Regions from separate parts of the Homo sapiens genome. Here region 1 is linked to region 2. Evidence: promoter capture Hi-C in 16 types of primary human blood cells and fetal thymus (Javierre and others, 2016). All regions are on one chromosome and are shown on one strand. The core of a region is centred on a gene start or on the middle of the fragment in contact, and the rest is flanking DNA. Distances in the headings are between cores, read along the strand shown. Region 1 holds the start of YME1L1 (YME1 like 1 ATPase). Region 2 holds the start of ARL5B (ARF like GTPase 5B).

Evidence for each region. The method cuts DNA at HindIII sites, captures the fragments that hold promoters and counts their contacts. A CHiCAGO score of 5 or more calls a contact.
Region 1: a contact is called between the fragment with the promoter of YME1L1 here and the fragment with the promoter of ARL5B in region 2, in 1 of 17 cell types (total B cells). The highest score is 7.6, in total B cells.

What each region holds. Positions count from the first base shown.
Region 1 is chr10:27,151,041-27,157,689 of GRCh38, forward strand. YME1L1 (YME1 like 1 ATPase) reads right to left here and starts at 3,344. Exons shown (of 19, transcript NM_014263.4): 1 at 3,138-3,344. The coding sequence starts at 3,170. It overlaps MASTL (microtubule associated serine/threonine kinase like), which reads left to right and starts at 4,312. Exons shown (of 12, transcript NM_001172303.3): 1 at 4,312-4,572. The coding sequence starts at 4,387. RefSeq lists enhancers at 4,074-4,133, 4,754-5,003 and silencers at 4,194-4,403, 4,201-4,399. The HindIII fragment of the contact is 10,812 bases long and covers 1-6,649 here.
Region 2 is chr10:18,656,456-18,662,769 of GRCh38, forward strand. ARL5B (ARF like GTPase 5B) reads left to right here and starts at 2,976. Exons shown (of 6, transcript NM_178815.5): 1 at 2,976-3,228. The coding sequence starts at 3,183. It also overlaps a transcript of NSUN6 not described here. RefSeq lists enhancers at 1,805-1,924, 2,625-2,754 and a silencer at 3,065-3,144. The HindIII fragment of the contact is 6,724 bases long and covers 2,019-6,314 here.

The DNA of each region.
Region 1 (6,649 bases), core at 2,094-4,593, 8.5 Mb after region 2:
TCAGCCTCCCGAGTAGCTGGGACTACAGGCGCAGGCCACCACACCCAGCTATTTTTTTGTATTTTTAGTAGAGATGGAGTTTCACCATGTTAGCCAGGATCTTGATCTCCTGACCTCGTGATCCGCTCGCCTCTGCCTCCCAAAGTGCTGGGATTACATGCGTGAGTCCCCGCGCCTGGCGACTCTCTCGAATTCTTGTGCGAGATCCAACAACCCTCTCTTGGGGTCTGGATCAGGGCCCACTTCCAGTAAAAATTCCAGTGTTTATCTCCTTCAAAACTCAAGTTTGAGTTGAGAACAATGGCAAACTTAGTTGCCACTGTAATCCTGTTAAGAGGTGGGACCTTTAAGAGGCATTTAGTTCAGGAGGGCTCTGCCCTCATCAATGGACTAACGCCATTATTGTGGGTACAGACCATTTAATAGATGAAGACAACAAAGATTTAGAATCTGACTCAAAATTCCAGACTTCTCATCCCATGGATATTGATACACAAATAAATTCGTGACATACTAAGGAATAAAGCTGACCGTAAAACTACCTTAAGTATGCATACCCGTGGGGGCGCGGTGGCTCACGCCTGTAATCCCAGCACTCTGGGAGGCCGAGGCGGACGGATCACAAGGTCAGGGGATGGAGACCATCCTGGCTAACACGGTGAAACCCCATCTCTACTAAAAATACAAAAAATTAGCCGGGCGTGGTGGCGGGCGCCTGTGGTCCCAGCTACTTGGGAGGCTGAGGCAGGAGAATGGCGTGAACCTGGGAGGCGGAGCTTGCAGTGAGCGGAGATCGCGCCACTGCACTCCAGCCTGGGCGACAGAGCGAGACTCCATCTTAAAAAAAAAAAAAAATTAAAATAAAAAAAAGTATGCATACCCGTGTTTGTTTATAGAAAAAAATGTGTGAAAGAATTTAGTCTAAGATACGTATCCCTGAGTAATGAGATTATGGGCGATCTTATTTATACTTTCAGCATTTTTAGCAAAAAAACATGGATTTGTTTTAAGGCTAGTCAAGTGAAGCAATGTATCATTTTTAGAGTCAGAAAGAAACAGTAAGTTCCTTACAGCCTGGGGGCAGTAAAAAGAAAAAAAAATAAACAGTAACTTCTTTTGAAACTTTAAAAATAATCAAATCATTTCAAGATACATATTTTCTACCTCTTTGAAAAGATTTATTTGAATTAGTTATATCTCTTTTATTTGAATTAGTTATATCTCTTTTCTTTCACAAAAGGATTTAGAGTTGAGCTCTTCTCAATGAAAAAGTTCATTTTCTGTGTCTTCCTTTTTACCATTTAATTTCAAGTGTATTCAACCAATTAAGCAACAAGGAATTCCAAATGTGTTACCATCCTTCAAAGCAAGAAATGCCTGAGAGTCCTCACTATATTTGAGCCCTGTTAAGACTGCCTAGGGTACATAAAAATCCCTTTATCATCTCTACCAACATCACATACTACTAACTGTCCATTCAGTTGATGGTAAATTCTCCTAAAATCAGGCCTCTTGATGTGAACTAAGGCAAAGAGTTGAGTTTCAAAAACTTCAATACCATATTCAATAGGCCATGTCAGACTTCTTTTTCAAACAATTACTAGGACTTCTCCAGACACTGTCATCTTGGTAAATAGCACCTTCAATGCATTCATCTGATCAAACCCAGAAACACCTCTCCCCATCATCTCTCTGATCTCTCATGCAATTCCACTTTCTTCAAAATATATCTCATTCTCTTCTTTCCATAACCACTGCAACAGCTTTAATTGGGGGGTGGGTGGGTATTTTTAGCTGATAACATCTTCCACTCTTGCCCTCTCCTATTCTCCATATAGCAAAAGCCAGTCATCTCTTAAAAATGAAAATCTAATCATGTTTTAAAACTTTCAATGGTTCCCAATACACTTAAAATGAAATCAGCCATAATATATCCTTTACTCCCTGTATGATCTGCCTCAAGTCTTTTCTCCAACCTCTTCTGTCACTACCCCCTTTAACTACTATGTTCTAGCCACACTAGCCTTATTTTTGTTCCTTCAACCTGCTAAACCCTTTCCTAACTCAGGACCTCCAGGTATTTTTCTGTATGCCTGTGATACCTGTTCACTCTTCACCTTGCTAAGTCCTACTCATATTTACTTCATATCAATATTAAGAGAAGATTCCACATTTGCTTTGCTCACCTGGTACATAACTGATGCCCAATAACAAGCAGCTGCTTCAGTTTGTTAGCCAGTACTAGCACAAAAAATTAAAAATTCTTAAAATGAGGGGGAGTAAAAGTTACACAAAGGAACACAATCATATGCTTAAATCAAGAACCTAAGAGTGTCGATTTTCTTAAAAATTATGTTTTAAAAAAACTCAATGTTTTAAAAACTATTTCTTTGCAAAACTGTAGGAACTCTCAAAAAATCTATTAAAATGTTACCATCAAAAAAAGAGACTGGAATGAAGCAAGAATAAAACATTGTCACAAGTGATTGCCCAAGAGCGTAATGAAAACCCTTGAAATCATTTTTCTCTTCACTACCTTTTGTTTTACAAAACGATGAGGATGAGGCTGAATCAAAATTTTAACTGCAAACAGTTTACGACTCGGAAATACACATTTTAGTTACTTCTGGTCAAAATGAGAAAAAAACTTGCATGGCTGGCCATCCGAAATATTATACCATGTTTGGGTTAAATTTAAATTCCATTTAAAAGGAAATAAAGAGCAGGGGATAGGGGCTGTGAACACTAAAGCCACTGGAAAGTCGGAAAAAAGGGAACATTACCTGCTCCCTTTAATGTATGGTACAGACATTTTCCCACCCCAGAACGCCGGACACTGAACAATGCCGGACGGATTCTCTAGCAGAAATTCCACGCAATCAGTTCGATAAGCCAGGGTCTCTCTCTATCACTGAGCTCACATCCCGCCTCTGCCCTCAACAGCTTCATCGTCAGCACTGAAGTCTCCGGCCCACTCTCAGCGTCGTCCCCTGATCCACTCCTCAATCCTGGGATTCGCATTGAGTACATCACTTCATTTCTAGAGTCCCTTCTGAGAAATCGCTTCCACGAGCGCAATTTGCAAACAGCCACGGGCAGGGCGGGAGGAAAAAAAATGGGCTGAATGCCTGGCTTACCTGGGGTTGCACCGTGCTCGACAAGGAAAACATCTCCGGCGGGCCCTCAGCGACCTCACCCGCCTGCCGAAACTGTGCCCCTCTGTCCACGGCCCGGCGGGGAGGCGCTGAGCCCTTCTTTTTTCCTTTTTCTCCGACCCGTTGCCCCTCACTCCTCCCAGAAACGGAAAATGGCCTCCCCTTCCTACAGCTACTGCAACGACAGACAATCCGCCCCGGAAGGCGAGGCGCTAACTCAACAGTACTTCCGGGGCAAGTGAGCGCCCACAAGGCCAAGTGCCTGCGCGTTCTTTCCCGCGGAAGTAGTTGACATTTACAAGGAGCAGCGCCCCCAAAGGTCTTTAGCTGTTTTTTAAGGGGAGAACAGCCTTTACCCTCTTTGGACTTTTTCTTCGTTTTTTTTTTTTTTGGAGACGGAGTTTCGTTCTTTCGCCCAGGCTGGCGTACAGTGGCGCGATCTCGGCTCACTGCAACCTCTGCTCCCCGGGTTCAAGCGATTCTCCTGCCTCAGCCTCCCGAGTAGCTGGGATTACAGGTGCCCGCCACCACGCCCGGCTGATTTCCTCTTAAGACTTTCTACAGCTTCCTTATGAAATCTTCTGACTGGGCCTTGAGCAATAAGGTCTTTTGCTACAATTTAGTGCTCTTTTCCTCACACTAAATCGAAAACTCTCCCTGTTGGTCCTGATCTGTTTCAGTCAGGCAAATTACATCCTGGGAAAACGTCAGATGACAGGGGAGGCCACTCGCTTCCTGCTCATCCAGTTTCGACACTTTCTGTGCTTTCATTAGCTTCCAGACCTCAGCCCTGGCCCTCGCTTTACTGTACAGTCAGAACTGGTTTCTACGCCTCGCGAGGGTGGGAGGTCGTGTATGGGAGGAGGACCGCTTCCCACCAGCCTCGTTGGGAAGCCAGGAGAAATCTCTTCAAATCCTGCGATTCAGAGTCAAGTCCCAGTCGTCCTTTTTCTGGTCGGCCCAGAACTGTTTGTGCCTCCTCCCTCATGAGGAATGATGTCAGTGGGGCCGCGGTCGCCGCCCACGAAGAGTGTAAGGCTGCGAAGTCGGGGCTTTCCCGACGCCCCCTCCGTCCGCGTCTGCGTAGGGGAGGTGACGAGGGCGGGGCGCGGCGGCGGGGTGACGTCACGGCCGCGCGCGGCGTGGGCGGAGCCTCACTTTGAACCCAGTTGGCGGGAGTGGCTGCTCGCGGAGGGGCAGTGTCTGCGGGGCCGCTGTATGCTGTCCAGCGATGGATCCCACCGCGGGAAGCAAGAAGGAGCCTGGAGGAGGCGCGGCGACTGAGGAGGGCGTGAATAGGATCGCAGTGCCAAAACCGCCCTCCATTGAGGAATTCAGCATAGTGAAGCCCATTAGCCGGGGCGCCTTCGGGAAAGTGTATCTGGGGCAGAAAGGCGGCAAATTGTATGCAGTAAAGGTAGGAAGTCAACGAGTAGCAAGGAAGGGGTTAGGCCCTTCGGCCCTCCTTCCTGCCCCACCGGCTTGGGCAGGCCCCGGGGTTGCTGGAGCGAGGAGTCTGGGTGGCCTGGCTTGCTGAAGCCTCCAGAGCCCTGCGAGCTGACTTCTTTTTGGGGCGACATCAGCGGTCGGGTCGGGTGTCTCGCCTCTGTTCCGCCCTTCCCTCCATATCTCAGATGCCCAGTGAGAACAGCAAAGTTTGACTCTCTTCTCCCTGCCCAGCGTTAGCAAATGAGGAAACTGAGGCCAAAGGCAAAGGGACTTGACCGAGGTGATTACATCGGTCTTAGTACAACAGGCACTTAAAGCCAAAGCCGTGATTCGTAGTCTCACCCTGGCTTGAGTTAGGTTTCTTTTTTATTTTTTTTTGAGGCGGAGTCTTGCTCTGTTTCCCAGGCTGGAGTGCAGTGGCGCAATCTCGACTCACTGCAAGCTCCGCCCCCCGGGTTCACGCCATTCCCCTGCCTCGGCCTCCCGACGAGCTGGGACTACAAGCGCCCGTCACCACGCCCGGCTGATTTTTTGTATTTTTAGTAGAGACGGGGTTTCTTTAGTAGAGACGGGGTTTCACCGTGTTAGCCAGGATGGTCTCGATTCCCTGACCTCGTATTCCGCCCGCCTCGGCCTCCCAAAGTGCTGGGATTACTGGCGTGAGCCACCGCGCCCGGCGAGTTAGGTTTCTAAATCCAAAAGGTTTTTAGTAATTAGTGGTTTTGTTTACCTTGTTTGCTTTGACGTGCAGAATCGTCGAAATTTTTCTACCACAGAAGAGTGATTAATCTGTAGGCACTGATAACTTTTTAAGTTTTATTCTTAACCAGAAGAAAGATTACTATTTTCTGAGAAGTCTTTAATAATTTTTTTTTAAGACAGTCTTTCTCTGTCGCCCAGGCTGGAGTGCTGTGGTGCAGTCTCGGCTCCCTGCAGCCTCTGCCTCCTGGGTTCAAGCGATTCTCCTGTCTCAGCCTCCCGAGTAGCTGGGATTACAGGCGCGCGCCACCATGCCTGGCTGATTTGTGTAGTTTTTTTTTTAGCCGAGATTGAATTTAGCCAGGTTGTTTTGGTTATGTTGGCCAGGCTGGTCTGGAGCTCCTGACCTCAGGTGACCCGCCCACATCGGCCTCCCAGAGTGCTGGGATTACAGGTGTGAGCCACCGCGCCCTGCCCTGCTATGAATTTTTTTTTTTTTTTTTTTGAGATAGAGTTTCACAGTGACGTGATCTCAGCTCACTGCAACCTCCACTTCCCGGGTTCAAGCGAGTCTCCTGCCTCAGCCTCCCGAGTAGTTGGGATTCCCGCCACCACACCGGGCTAATTTTTTGTATTTTTAGTAGAGACGGGGTTTCACCATTTTGGGCAGGCTGGTCTCAAACTCCTGAGCTCAGGTGATCTGCCCGCCTCAGCCTCCCAAAGTGCTGGGATTACAGGGGTGAGCCACCGTGCCTGGCCTTATGCTGGTTCCTTTTTAAGTGCTTTTCTTCTACCCTTTTGTGCTCTTCTCCACCTGTCTTATTCATGTATTAAGATTCATCTTAGCTCCCCTTCACACCTTCCCTAATCTTTCAGAATTGGAAGATCTGATTGAATTGGTTACTTTATATGTTCCTGAGATTTTTACTTTTCCTTCTACAGTACTTAGTCATGATCAGTTGAAATGAAAACACCAATCCATGTGTTCAGTCAGTATTTGCTTAGCACCCACCCTCTTTGTGTCTACGAACTGGACAACAATGGGGAACAAAACACACATGCCCTCATAGCCAGTGGAATGATAGGAAAAATCATGTTACCAGCTTGCTTTGTCAGTTTCCCTCAGTTTTCTTAAAGAAAGGAGTTAAGGCAGGAATTTATCATGTACTAATGATTTTATTAAGTACTCGAATAAATCTTTGAAAGAAATATGCCTTTTTTTCTTATAGCAGTCCTGAGAATTGATCCCAGTGTTACTGACTATTCAGTTTAGTGCTCCAACTTTATTTTTATTTATTTATTTATGTATTTTTAATTTTTCTTAGTGCTCCAACTTTAATAGTTCT
Region 2 (6,314 bases), core at 1,726-4,225:
GAACCCGGGAGGCAGAGGTTGCAGTGAGCTGAGATCACACAACTGCACTCCAGCCTAGGTGACAGAGTGAGACTCCGTTTAAAAAAAGCAATGGACAAATTGATCAGAGTTGTATAAGTAATAAATTGAATTCAATTACAGCTACAGCTAGCTCTTCCAAGTATTATCTGAAGTTAGTTTGTAATAGTTCCTTTTAAAAACATCTTATAGTTTTATTTTTTGAATTCCCGAGTTGTTTGACATTTTTCTTCCTTGAACTCTTTAAAATATTTTGTTGAACTGGATAGAGATTTTACTGGGATTCCAATTTAATTAAAGGAAGTTATTTCCAATGAACACTTAAGAAAATTAGTTACAATCCTTTTTTTTTTTTTTTTTTTTTTTTTTGGTTCAGACAGGGTCTCACTGTCACCCAGGCTGGAGTCCAGATGCACGATCTTAGCCCACTGCAGTCTTGACCTCCTTGGCTCAAATGAGCCTCTTGCCTCAGCCACCTCATTAGTCGGGACTACACATGTGCACCACCATGTCCAGCTAACTTTTGTATTTTTTTGGAGAGACAGGATTTCTCCATGTTGTCTGGGTTGATCTAAAATTCCTGGGCTCAAGTAATCCACCTGCCTTGGCCTCCCAAACTGCTAGCATCACAGGCATGAGCCACCGTGCCTCTCCTAATGTAATTGAAAGTATTTTTTCTAACAGATCGATAGGTACATCAGCATGATATCTGTTTAGATAATACACAACTATATTCTGTTAATCAATCATATTACTTTTGATAATTGTGGCTATTTTTCTTTCCCTCCAGTTTGTAAAAATTTTAGATTTCCAAATCAGCAAACAAAACTTTTAAATATGAAAAAATATTTTTAAAATATTAGAACAGTCTCATTGTCAGGTAAATTGTTCATAAGAAAGGTGTTAAAAGTAAGTTAAAAGTAAATTTTAACGAACTGAAAACTTCAACACTAAAGTTTTCTGAAATTTCAAAGAAACAAAACCAATAAAAATATCAAGAGCCATGTTCAAATAAATACATTCATTCCACTTAGTTAAAAGTAGAAGTATAATTCAAACTTACTGTCTCTAAAATATCATAAAAATGTTTAAGAAATCTATAGTTTTTTTTGCTTCAAATCTCTGCATTTTCTTTATTTTATTTTTATTTTTATTTTTTTAGACGGAGTCTCACTCTGTCGCCAGGCTGAAGTGCCCTGGTGTGATCTCTGCTCCCTGCAACCTCTGCCTCCCAGGTTCAAGCAATTCTCCTGCCTCAGCCTCCTGAGTAGCTAGGATTACAGGCGCGTGCCACCACACCCGGCTAATTTTTGTATTTTTAGTAGAGACAGGGTTTCACCATGTTGGCCAGGATGGTCTCCATCTCTTGACTTCGTGATCCACCCGCCTCAGCCTCCCAAAGTGCTGGGATTACAAGCATGAGCCCCAGCGCCCAGCCAAATGTCTGCATCTTCATACAAAAATGCTTTGTTCTTTTCAGAAATGGTTTCTTAGAAATCCGAAAGCCAGAAAAAAAAAAAAAAAGCAGAATGTGGTTTACATCCATGTCTAACAATTGAAGAAGCTGTTACGGAATCTAAAGTTTGTTTTGTGATAATGAAGCTAGGACTAAAAATGTCCTTTTAAGCCATTACTTACACAAACACAAAATTATTCACATTTATGGTCCAACTGATAGTCATGAAAGTTAAGTTTGCATAGGGTCAGTACATTCTTTTTCCTCTACATAGGAGGTTGAAACTTGCCTTTAATGTTGTAACGTTGGAGCATATTATCCTGCATCTAAGTCTTAAAGGGTCTTTAAACCATAGCACTGGGAGGACGTAAGTCATACATTCTCCTTGTACAGGTTAACTCAAGAGTTTGGCATGTTAAAAGGCCACGTTGCCAAGGTTAAAATCCAACCATCTGACTGAAGTCAGAGTCTAAAAAAATTTTAAGCTTGCTCCTCCGTCAACTGGTTTCAAGGACATTCAGTTTCGTTTCATGCCAGGCTGTGAAGCTTTTCTTTTCAATGCTAGAACCTAACCATGGAAAGTGGAATTGAAAACAATTACACAGCGAATTGGCTTATGCGTGGACTTCGATCTGGGATCCACGAACATACCTAATGCTTGGCAAAATGGAGAGGGGTGCTATGTGTTATTATTATGTGTTATTATTAATCACATAACTGAACTCTGTGGCTCCAGGCCTTCCATGGCTCGTCTCCCAATCAATTCTTTTCAGAACTAAGAATCACGACAGGGGCCGGGCGCGGTGGCTGAGCCTGCAATCCCACCACTTTGGGAAGTCGAGGCAGGAAGATCGCTTGAGCCCAGGAAATTGAGTCCCCCTGGGCAACACAGCCCGACCTCGTCTGCAATCGATCAATCAATCAATGAGTACATAAATGCATAAGCCAATGAATGAATACGTGAATGAATAGATTAATAAATGAATGAAGAAGAATCACGGCAGAACTCCTAACCCCTAGCACGCCTGCCTAGGGGAACAGGAATAAGTCAGGAAAGAAACACTCTTCACTTCTGTGAGTTTTCTAAGAGCAGCAAACGGCGGCTGCTCACTTAGAGAACCTATGGTCTTTCCTGGTTTTAGAGGTCAGGGAAGCAGCTGCTAGCAGCAGAGACTCAAATCAAAGGGGAGTCCCACAAACGTTTTGAAGGCTGACATCAGAAGGAGCACGCACCAAGGGAAATTTCCCACCCCCCCGCGATACCGCAAATTCCCAGCCGCTGGCCGTTTGGGACTCTCCTACCGGAAGTGAAACCGAAGAAAACGCCACGTCGAAGGCGTGGGTTGCCGTAAGTGCGCCGTCGTCACGCGCCTAGCTTCCGGCGATGGGTGGTCCTGGGATCCGGAGGGGAGGCGGGGTGGAGGCGGGGCTTGGGGCTGTGGAGAGGCTGTGGTAGGTAGGTGGGTACAGACCGAGGGGACTACGGGTCGGCGTTGGGCTCAGTGGGCTCGAAACAAAGGGCTGTCCGGTGGGGATTCGTCGCGGCGCCTTCTGAGTGGTCGGGTCGAGGCTTCTCGGCCTAGCAGTGCCCTCGCTGCGCGATCTCAGGCGGGTTCTCCTCGGCTCCGCGCAGCCCGCGCCGCGGTGGGGGACCCGGCGCAGCGGCACCTGCTGCCGAGGGACCCCGCGGCCCGCCCCGGTGCTCGTGATGGGGCTGATCTTCGCCAAACTGTGGAGCCTCTTCTGTAACCAAGGTGAGAAGAATGGAGCTGCGCGGCGGCTCGAATCCGAGGCAGAGGGTCCCGCCGCCGATGGGGACACCGGAGACAGGGGACAGAGCGTTCGGAGACGCGGAGGAGGAAGGGACTTAGGCCAGGGGGCGGGCAGAAACTCAGTGTTTTAGACCTGGAGGACGTACAGGAGAGACCTGACGTGTGGGAGAAATAGGGAGGCAGAAGAGAAGGTATTTGGCGTCCCAGAATCCAAACTGAGAATGTTTGGATATTGGCGAAGTAAAGCGGGATACAGCTAATGATGCCAGGAGGCGTATGGAGGGCCTTTCTCGTCTTTATTGAAGCGTGCTTGTGTCTATGTGTATCCCCAGGATAAGTGTCCGCCCAGAAACCTAGAACTTTTTTTTTTTTGAGTAATGTAGGTGCTTTGTTTTCCCGCCCTGCAGTTTGAGCCGTAAGCCAGTGCACTTTCACTCTGATTTCGCCTCCTTTCCTCTAGGACTTGGGAATGAGTTGTCCTATTCAGATGCACGAGTTTTCCAGCATCTTCATTGTAAACTTTTTTTTTTAAAGCATTTAGTTCAGAAACTAAATGCTTTTCGGTTTTGTGTAAGACGTTACGTGTCCGTAATTAGTCTGTAACAGGTAATGAGACACCTGGAAGTGGCAGGTCCAAAGGGCCGAGAAGTTGCAAAACCTGTTCTGAATCAGAATGAGATGTGATGTCTTCTGAAGAGAGAAAACACCCAGACCAAAAAAGGGGCCGACGATAAGTTAAAGTTTGAGGCGTCCTTTGAACAGAATGGTTTCTTAGTAATTGAAACCAGTTTTGAAAATCAACTCGTTTCATTTTACATTTAAGAGCCGGGCATCGTTAATAAGCCAGTTTTATTTCCTTTTATGTTGGTACCAATTTGTTACTGCTAATGTAGGTATCTAATCTTTTTCTGGATTTAAGAAGTTGTGGAGGTAATGGAATGGCTTTAGTTGACTTGTTCTGTAGATTGATAAGAACACTAAAGCAGTCTTTTTCAAGGTTATAAATATAGATACAGGCACACACATGTGTATATATATGTATATGCCTGTATCCAGTAACCACAGATAATATTACTTATCAAATGATTTCAAAGTGAGCAGAGCTTCACACTTTGTGGGTATTATCCATACATTTAAAATATTATTTTTATTTATTTATTTTTTGAGGCAGAGTCTTTCTCTGTCGCCCAGGCTTCAGTGCAGTGGCGCAATCTCAGCTCACTGCAACCTCTGCATCCTGGGTTCAAGCGATTCTTGTTCCTCAGCCTCCCGAGTAACTGGTATTTACAGGCACCCGCCACCACGCCCGGCCTATTTTTGTATCTTTAGTAGAGACAGGGTTTCGCCATGTTGGGCAGGCTGGTCTCGACCTTCTGACTTCAGGTGATCTACCCACCTCGGCCTCCCAAAGTGCTGGAATTACAGGTGTGAGCCACCGCGCCCAGCGGTAAAACAGCATTTTAAGACATGCTTAAAGGTATAAAGATTAATACAAAAATCACCAGTTTTCTCTTTCCCCTGAGCTGGAGAATCGAAACGTTACCGAAGTAGTTGGTTTTCCCTTTATATCCTTTCCCGTTTTCCTTTCTCCCTTTTCTGTTACATGGCTGCTGTCTTGTCTTTTTTCGTTGGAGGTGTCCTTACTCAGACTAGAGGTAATAAAAGATGTAAGGGGAAAATGTAGATGGTGATGAAAGACATCCAGTGGCTACTTTTATACTCGCATAATTGTTCAGGCCTCCTGAATCTCCATTTCTACTTAGAATTTTTCTCTTCCTCTAACTTTCCTGTTGGAAAATTTAGAACCAGTGATTATTCTGTTATTTTATTCTTATTCATTCATACAGCCATAGGCCAGTCTTCAGAGTTTAGCATAGGAGATACAAAATTAAAGAATAAAGATACCTTACTTCTTGGCAAAGTATTCAAACATCAATAAACGAGACAAACATGAAAAAAAATGCAGTGTGGTAAATTATTTAACAGATATGTGTAAAAATATAACGTTGGCTGCAGCACAAGGTATACTTGGACGTAATGTAATGATGAGTAGGAATTTGGGTGGCATGCTAGACAGACCGAATAGAAGGGACGTGTTATTCTAGGCAGAAGAGCTAATATGCAAAAGGGAGAGGAATGAGCTAGTTTGGTACTTTTAGGGAAGCTGAAAATAGTTGAGCTTGGCTGTGTGTTAGTTTGCTTGCGAGGAGTGAAGAGGAGATGAGATTGGAAAGACAACCAGGAGAACCTTATCACAGAGGGCCTCCAGTGTTGACTAAGACATTAAACTCTCTAGAGCAAGGAATGGGACTCACTGAAGGGTTTAATCCACAGATGTATCTTAGCCTATATTTTTGTTTTCTGCATCAACAAAATTAACTACCAATCTCAGCATTTTCCATTTTTGTAACTATATTTATCTATTCCAGTGGAATTAGATATATTAGAATAACAGGCCCAAAGCGCCACCTCACACCAACTAAATTAGATTGGGGTGAAGAGGCCTGGGCATCACTGCCAAGGTAAATCGAATGTGCAGCCAGTGTTAAGAACTACTGATCTTACTTTATGTGCTCCTTTCCCGTGTCTTTCTTCCAGTATTTCCACATTCTCATCCTTTTTTTTCCTGTAGCATTTTAGAGTCTCATGCGTCTTATAAATTAGATACCTTTCTGTGAATAAGTATACTAAAGCGTGTGTTGTCTAAGTAAAGCAATGTAAAAGTTAATTCCTGCAATTTTGTATTGTTTGAACTGGAAGCCTGTTTACTTCGACAGTTATTATTCAAGGAAATAATTTGGAATTCTGATTATCTCTGCAAACATTTTATATGTTAATGTAGTTCTGTGAAATACATATGTGTTATGTGTGTTTGATAGCTCACCTCTAAAGTTTTGCATTGTTTTTTAAATTTCTTTTGAACTTTTGTAGGCATAGTCTTTTTCTCTCAGTGTTATGATTGTGGAAACCTGTCATCAGTTATTTCTTTTTTTGTTGTTTGTTTGTTTTTTTTTTTTAATGAGATGGAGTCTCACTCTGTCACCCAGGCTGGAGTGCAGTGGTGCGAT